Regions from separate parts of the Homo sapiens genome. Here region 1 is linked to region 2. The links are contacts of gene promoters, found by promoter capture Hi-C in blood cells and fetal thymus (Javierre and others, 2016). All regions are on one chromosome and are shown on one strand. The core of a region is centred on a gene start or on the middle of the fragment in contact, and the rest is flanking DNA. Distances in the headings are between cores, read along the strand shown. Region 1 overlaps CIB4 (calcium and integrin binding family member 4). Region 2 holds the start of SLC35F6 (solute carrier family 35 member F6).

Evidence for each region. Contacts are between HindIII fragments. The CHiCAGO score rates a contact against its expected background, and 5 or more counts as called.
Region 1: a fragment that was not itself captured here is called in contact with the fragment with the promoter of SLC35F6 in region 2 in 4 of 17 cell types (M0 macrophages, M2 macrophages, M1 macrophages and 1 more); the score reaches 7.6 in M0 macrophages.

Annotation. Positions count from the first base shown.
Region 1 is chr2:26,609,781-26,613,165 of GRCh38, forward strand. All of the region lies in intron 3 of CIB4 (calcium and integrin binding family member 4), which reads right to left. Among named protein-coding and RNA genes, the nearest start is that of CIB4, 30 kb to the right of the region's middle. The HindIII fragment of the contact is 894 bases long and covers 1,235-2,128 here.
Region 2 is chr2:26,762,829-26,766,300 of GRCh38, forward strand. It overlaps SLC35F6 (solute carrier family 35 member F6), which reads left to right and starts at 1,456. Exons shown (of 6, transcript NM_017877.4): 1 at 1,456-1,598. The coding sequence starts at 1,522. RefSeq lists an enhancer at 1,113-1,312 and a silencer at 1,323-1,632. The HindIII fragment of the contact is 6,262 bases long and covers 1-2,070 here.

The sequences.
Region 1 (3,385 bases), core at 432-2,931, 150 kb before region 2:
CTTGTGGCTCAGGCTGGGAACTTAAACACAGTTTATACGTTTTCCCACGGAAAACACAAACAAAGTTCCGAACAACCAATATGAAAACCCTTTAAAACACAATCTGTACCTGTACTTTACAGGCAGTTAGTTCAAAGCAAGAGACTGTAACTAACAGGATGAAGTCACCCACTCAAGGGCAGACCAGGCAGCGGAAGCTTAGAAAACTGCCTAGAACATTCGCTCCTCTGCTTCTCGTGGGAGCAGGCTGGGTTCCGCTTGGAGTGGCAGGGCCCCGCTGTGCCTCCACGACCCTCCTGGTTCCGGCCTACTGTTTACAAGCAGCCTTCCTGTTTGTAAGCCGCCAGAGGTTCTCAGATGGTGTCAGGGCTGCTTTGCAGCTGTTTGGGGACACCCAGCACAGGGCACGCTGGGAACCATGTTCCCTGTGAACTCTGCAGGCTGTAGATCTTTGCATCAAGATAACAGTTCCTCTTTTATCAAACACATCTAAGCAACAATTGATCTATTTTGTCCCTCACTTTGAATCCACTGATATAAACAGAAATGGACTCGCACTGCAGCCTCCTCTCACCAATAGCCGCCTCTCCCCCTGCCCACCCACTGCCCCACGCTCAGTGACTCTTTAAACAACGGAGTCTAAACCTAAGCAACTCAAAGGCCTTTTAATGTTTCAGTCCTTGACATTTTGGACTATTGGATTTTTGAAACCCCCAGCTTTCTGTTCTTCTCTCTCCTGTATCCTGGGGACTTTGCCCCAATAGTATCAGGCTGCCCTTGCCTGCTAAGGGCTCTGCCAGCCAGCCATGATTTACCTTGGCATTTATTAAGTACCCAGACCTCTGGGCACCACACCTTATCTATACCTTCCCTCGGGTCCAAGAAGGGCAGAAAGGAAGGCAGGAAACTGGTGCTTGTTAAATATTTACTGTATATCAGGTGCTGTGTCAGCCAAATTCACATCTATTTGTCCATTAATCCCTTACAAGAAACCAAGCAGTCAATAGCAGTAAGTCCATTGTATAGATTAAGAAAACTGAGGGGTGAGGAGGTTAAATTACTTAACCAAATAAGAGGAAAGGCAGGAATTTGATCCCAGGTCTGTGTGACCCTCAAACCTGAGCTCCTTCCCTGGAATGTTTTCCAGGAAAACGCTGCATTGCAATGGAAAAAATACACATGGGTGTCATACTCCCGGGCTAGCAAACAAGCCCAGGCTGAGAGTCCAGGAACAAGCTTGCTCCTGCAAGAGCAAGGGGAGAAGTGGAAAATGCCCCGTGAATCCCTGCATTTGCTGGGGTGGCCAGATGAACTGATGACCTGTCACAGGAGTGATGAGAACTTCTGCATCTCTCCCTCCAGGATGGCACCCTCTGGGCAGCAGTGCAGGTGGAGGAGACTTGGGGCTAGGATCCACTGCACACTCAGCAGGAGATGCAACCTAGCCTTCGGGCTGCAGGGCCAGCACTGCTGTGGCGCCTGTCAGCACAGTCCATCTGGGAAGTTCTCACATAATACTGTCCGTGGGAGGATGGAGAGAATGGATTGTATGATAACACAGGGTAGAGCTGCCTATTGAAAAACCACATGCGAAGAGACCTTTATGGAGTCATGTCAACTTAGAGGGAGGTCTCTAGTGATGTGTCACAGGGCTCCATCTTTTATCACTGATTTGGGTTAAGGATATTCCAAAGCCCAGGTTTCTTATTTTGTGCAGTTTCCCCTATGAGGCATAAAGGTTTTTCCATGTTGCTACATACTCAGTATAATTATCATTTTAATGATTGCGTAGTTCAAATTCTTGGAGTGGACAGTTCTATCCATCTAAAACCTCCAAGGAGAACCTGGATGTCTAAACTAAAAAAAATTCAAAAAATGAGAAAAATAATAGATGAGGGTGTTTATTACAAAATTATTTATAGTAACAAATAAATAAATAAACCCCTGGAAAGAATGTTAATGTCCAGCCATGAGGAGATGGTTTAGTAAATCAGAACTCAATGCAATTATGCGCCATCAAAATGATAATTACACAGACTATGTAGCAACAAGAAAAAGCATTTATGCCTAATGGAAAAGAGCACAGAATAAAATTGTATCTATGTATGTCTACGATATTATAAAATAAAGCTTGCCTAGGGGAAAAGACGGCAAAAGAAAATAGAAAATGAAAATTTATGTTAGGGTCGTTGGATGCTAAGGAATTGATTTCTTAAAATTTTATTTTATTGGTGTCATACTACGTTAACAATAAATAAAAAGCAAATTAAAAAAGAAAGTGCACTCCAGAGACAATTTGCTAAGCAAGCAAAACAACTTTCCTTCCCAGGGGGTTGGAGGCAGGAGCTTTTGCTTCTCTCTTCTGCTTCACTCTCTGCAGGGCAAGGGCTGAACCCAGGCAGAGCTGAACTCCTGGCTCCCAGACCCAGTGAGGGGCTGATGTGCACTCTTCTCCTGTAAGGCCTGGCAGGAGACAGGAATCCTATTCAGCTCAGAGCTCAATAAGAACGGAAGTTCAGTGGAAGATGGCCCCAGCTCATCGCACCATCTTTGAGTCTTAGAGCATCTATGTCTGTACCTTTCCATATTCTTTCCAAAATATGGAGCCAAAGATGGGTAACTAGGATGCAGTGGACATTTTTGTGGATTATTCTACAGGGTTCTAAGAGCCTTGTTGGCCCCAGTGCTGCTTCTACTTTCTGGGCGTGAAAGCCTGAAAAAGCACAGTGGTTCCCTGGCCTCCCTCCCCTCCCAGGGTCCCTGGTGGCTCGGAGGCCTCTCTAAGGAGGAAGGGACTCAAGAAGTGGGACCACTGCCAACTGCCTGGCCCTGCTGGGAGCCTTCCCTTTTCTCGGTGATTCTTCCTCTTCCAGGAGGCCATTTGCCCAGAGACAGAGAGCAGGAGCAGCTGGCCAAGCGAGGCACTGCATATGCACAGAAGGAAGCTGTCCTCAATCCACAAGAGCCCTGCCAGCTGCTCCCCGTGACGACTTTCCTGAAGGTGGGGTGGCTTAAGCCCTGGGGCAGTTTACAGAGTATGGGACAAGGGGGAGGTTCTGCATCAACAGGGGCCAGGGCAGTAGGTGCTCCAATCATCTCCAGAGATAACTTATCTCCCATCTCTGGGTTTTCTGCCACCTGAGAAGTGACGTCTTGGTCACTGGCCTTTGCCTCCATTCCCCTAGATGCTGGGTGGGTCTGCTGGGAGCACTTCCCTCTGGCATTTGGCCTTGGGCAGAAAGAGAGAGAAGGAGGATCCTTTCCCCAAGGCCTAGGGGACTTTCAGCAGATGCAAGGGCATTCATCATCTCTCCTCCTCATCTCAGCTTCAGCTTTCTAGGAGAGTGGGTTTTTCCCACCGGAGCCTGATCCCCCAGCTTATGCC
Region 2 (3,472 bases), core at 206-2,705:
TGGTGGCAGGCACCTGTAGTCCCAGCTACTTGGGAGGCTGAGGCAGAGAACTGATTGAATCCGGGAGGTGGAGGTTGCAGTGAGCCGAGATCGCACCACTGCACTCCAGCCTGGGCGACAGAGCAAGACTCCGTCTCAAAAAAAAACAAAAATCTCTATTAACATAGATAGATATTTTTCCCGTTTCCTGCCCCACCCTCTCCCCTCCTCCCGGCTTTGAGTTGTCCTACCTTTCTGGACCAAACCAATGTATTTCTTAAATGTATTTGATTGATGTCTCGTGTCTTTCTAAAATGCTGCGCCCCGACCACTTTGGGCACATGTTCTCAGGACCTCCTGAGGGCTGTGTCACGGGCCATGGTCACAAATATTTGGCTCAGAATAAATCCCTTCAAATATTTTAGAGTGTGACTCTTCGTCAACACCCTCTTCAAACAAACCTAGGGATGGTCTTTCTGCCTGGATGCCTCAGCTGCGACCAGAAAGTCCACAAAGGAGCAGTGAAGCAGGGCTTGGTGCAGAGGCCATGCGGAAGGCACGGATTTTTGGAGACTGGAGAACCCAAGCGCAAATCCCTACCCCACTGCTCACCAGCAGGTTCTTAAGCAAATCACTCTGCTTCGCTGAATTTACTGTCCTCAGCTATAAAATGGTGTCCTCGGCAACTGGAGCTAGATGCCTTCGCCACTTTGCTGAAAGATATGAACTGTGCCCAAGGTGGGCGGTATCAGATAGGAGCCCCGAAGTGGAAACGTCCAGCGTGGGAATCTCCTCTCTACAGGGTCCCCAAGGAACTCCCGGCAGGCCCACTTCAGGGCTCCTTTCTGACACCGCCCAGCTCAACCTCTCAAAACGATTCACAAAATGCTGTAATAGCCACGATGCACCCTCACTGCACTGTCCCATCCGCCCCTTTTACAAATAGGAAGACCCAAAGATAAAAATAAGAAACCAAGGCCAGGCGCGGTGGTTCACGCCTGTAATCCCAATACTTTGGGATGCGGAGGAGGGCGGATCACCTGAGGTCGGGAGTTCGAGACCAGCCTGGCCAACATGGTGAAGCCCTGTCTCTACTAAAAATACAAAAAATTAGCCGGGCGTGGTGAAGGGCGCCTGTAATCCGAGCTACTCGGGAGGCTGAAGCAGGAGAATCGCTTGAACCCAGGAGGCGGATATTGCAGTGAGCCGAGATCATGCCATTGCACTCCAGCCTGGGCGACAGAGTGAGACTCCTTCTCAAAAAAATAGAAAAAAGAAACCCAAAAAGGCGGGGGAGAGTGAGGAAGAAAAGAAAAAAAAAACTGGAAGGCCTGGGCCGTGATTTGCCAGGGCCACGGCGTGGCCACCAAAGCGCTCCAGGACGACTCGGCAGAGCGCGGGCACCGTGGCTCAGGCGCGCTCCCCGGGGGCGGGGCGAGCAGGAGGGGTCACGTGACGCCCGGCCCGGAAGCGCTCGCGCAGGAGACCCCGGGTGACGGGGCCCGGCGCCGCTAACTGGAGCGAACCCCAGCGTCCGCCGACATGGCCTGGACCAAGTACCAGCTGTTCCTGGCCGGGCTCATGCTTGTTACCGGCTCCATCAACACGCTCTCGGCAAAGTGAGTCTGGGCCCTGCCGGGCGTGCGGGCCCTGGCGACCCCGGCGCTCGTTCTACGCCTTCCCCCTTCTTGGCCCTGCCCTCCTGGCTTCCCCTGCTTTCCCACTTGCTCCGGTCAGTTCGCGCGCGTTATGACCACCCAAGGGATGCGAGGCCCGGGGAAATGCGGAGCGGGGCTGCGCCCCGGACGGGGGGATCCGAGCCCCGGCTTTGATTTGCTGTACAGCCTCCGCTCCTGTTTCCACGTCTTTTAACAGGAGGGTTGGCCGATTCCTTTCCACGGCCCTTCCAGTGCTGGCGTCCAAGCCTGAGCACCTCCCTCCACGAGCTGGGAGAGACCCCTGGACTTGTGCACATGAGCCGCAGTAGTGGCTGTGCAGGCCGAGTGACCCAGTGAGCGTGGAGGCCTCAAGCGGCAGACAGGGAGGTGCCCCACGGCCCCTCAAGGATGAGGGGTTAGAGCTGTGCTTTGAAGCTTAGGTGGGATTTCGGAATGTGTCTGAGACTGTAAGTCAAGGAAAGTCTACGGAAAGGCCAGATCAAAGTCGATTGTAACCAGCATCAAATGCCCAGGTTAGATTTTCTCTCATAATCAGAAAAGTGCTTTTGAGCTGGGGAATGACATGTTGAAAGTGATATGATTGACTCAATGACATGAGGAGTGGTTTGGTGCAGGAAAAACCACTCCAAGGCTGCTGCATAGCAGATGAGGGGAACTAGGAGGTGGCAGTGAGAAGAGAAAGGAAGGGACAACTGGTGGCAGAGACCAGGTGTGAATGGCCACAGGCCTGACCCACATGAGCAAGAAACAAGGATCACTCCAGGGTTTCTGCCTGGGAGAAGAAAAGTGCCATTAACTCAGACAGAGAGGGCAAGTGGCCAGTTCAGCTCTGATGTATGGGGGTGAGAGGGGGGACAGTTCCCAGGAGGTTAGGGACTAAGGACCCAGGCAGTCATGAGACTGAGGGACAGGGCCTAGCCTCCCCTCTGTTGTGGGCAGGATGGCATTTCTTTGTCTCTCTCTGTCTCCATCTCAGGGCAGGGCCTTCCTGCCCCTCCTTTTCTTGTTGCCCAGGCTGGAGTGCAATGGCACGATCCCATGTATAAGGTACCTACGGTGTGTAAGGGAAGGGGACAGAAGTGACCAAGAGGCGATCTCTGCCTTTGAGATGCTTGGAATCTGAGGTGGAGGAGACAGACGTGTACGCACACGACAGTCACAGTGTTCTCCCTTCCCCAAACGGTGGGCACAGTCAGTGGAGTCCTGGGTGGGCCCCACCTGTTCCTCTGGTTCACCTCTGGCCAACTGTGCCTTGTGGAGAACTACTAGCTTCCCAGGCCCTGCATCCTCCTGAGGATCACTCCTCATGCTGAATCCTTAGCTGTTCAGAGGCCCCAGCCTGAGGGCTCCCATCTCAGGATCTGAACACAGCAAAGCAAGTCTTCTGTTCTGTCATGCCAGCCAGGGCCTCTGTCAAGTGCTTAGAGAGCGGTTGTAAGTCCACCAGGGCTGCTGCCCACAAGGAGAATCCAGATTGCCAGTTACTGCTGGGGTAAACTGTGCTGATTCACCTCCTTCCTTAGAAAACTCCAAACCAGTCAGGTAGGAAGCTTAGAGATCCTCAATCCCAGAAGGCGTCGCCTTTAAAGGCTGCCTGAGAGTCAGGAAAGAGGCTCCCAGGTGACAGACCCAACTTTTGGTCCTGTCCCCTGCCTGACAGCTGGTGTGGGGCCTCTCAGGATCCTCCCACCCCAAGATGGGCCCCCAAATTGGACCCTAAACAGTGTTCTAAGGTCAAACCACAAGAAGGGATACTCTTAGGGAGAAAGAACATGTGGGAGCAGCTGCATGCACCCCGATGTGAAGTATGGATT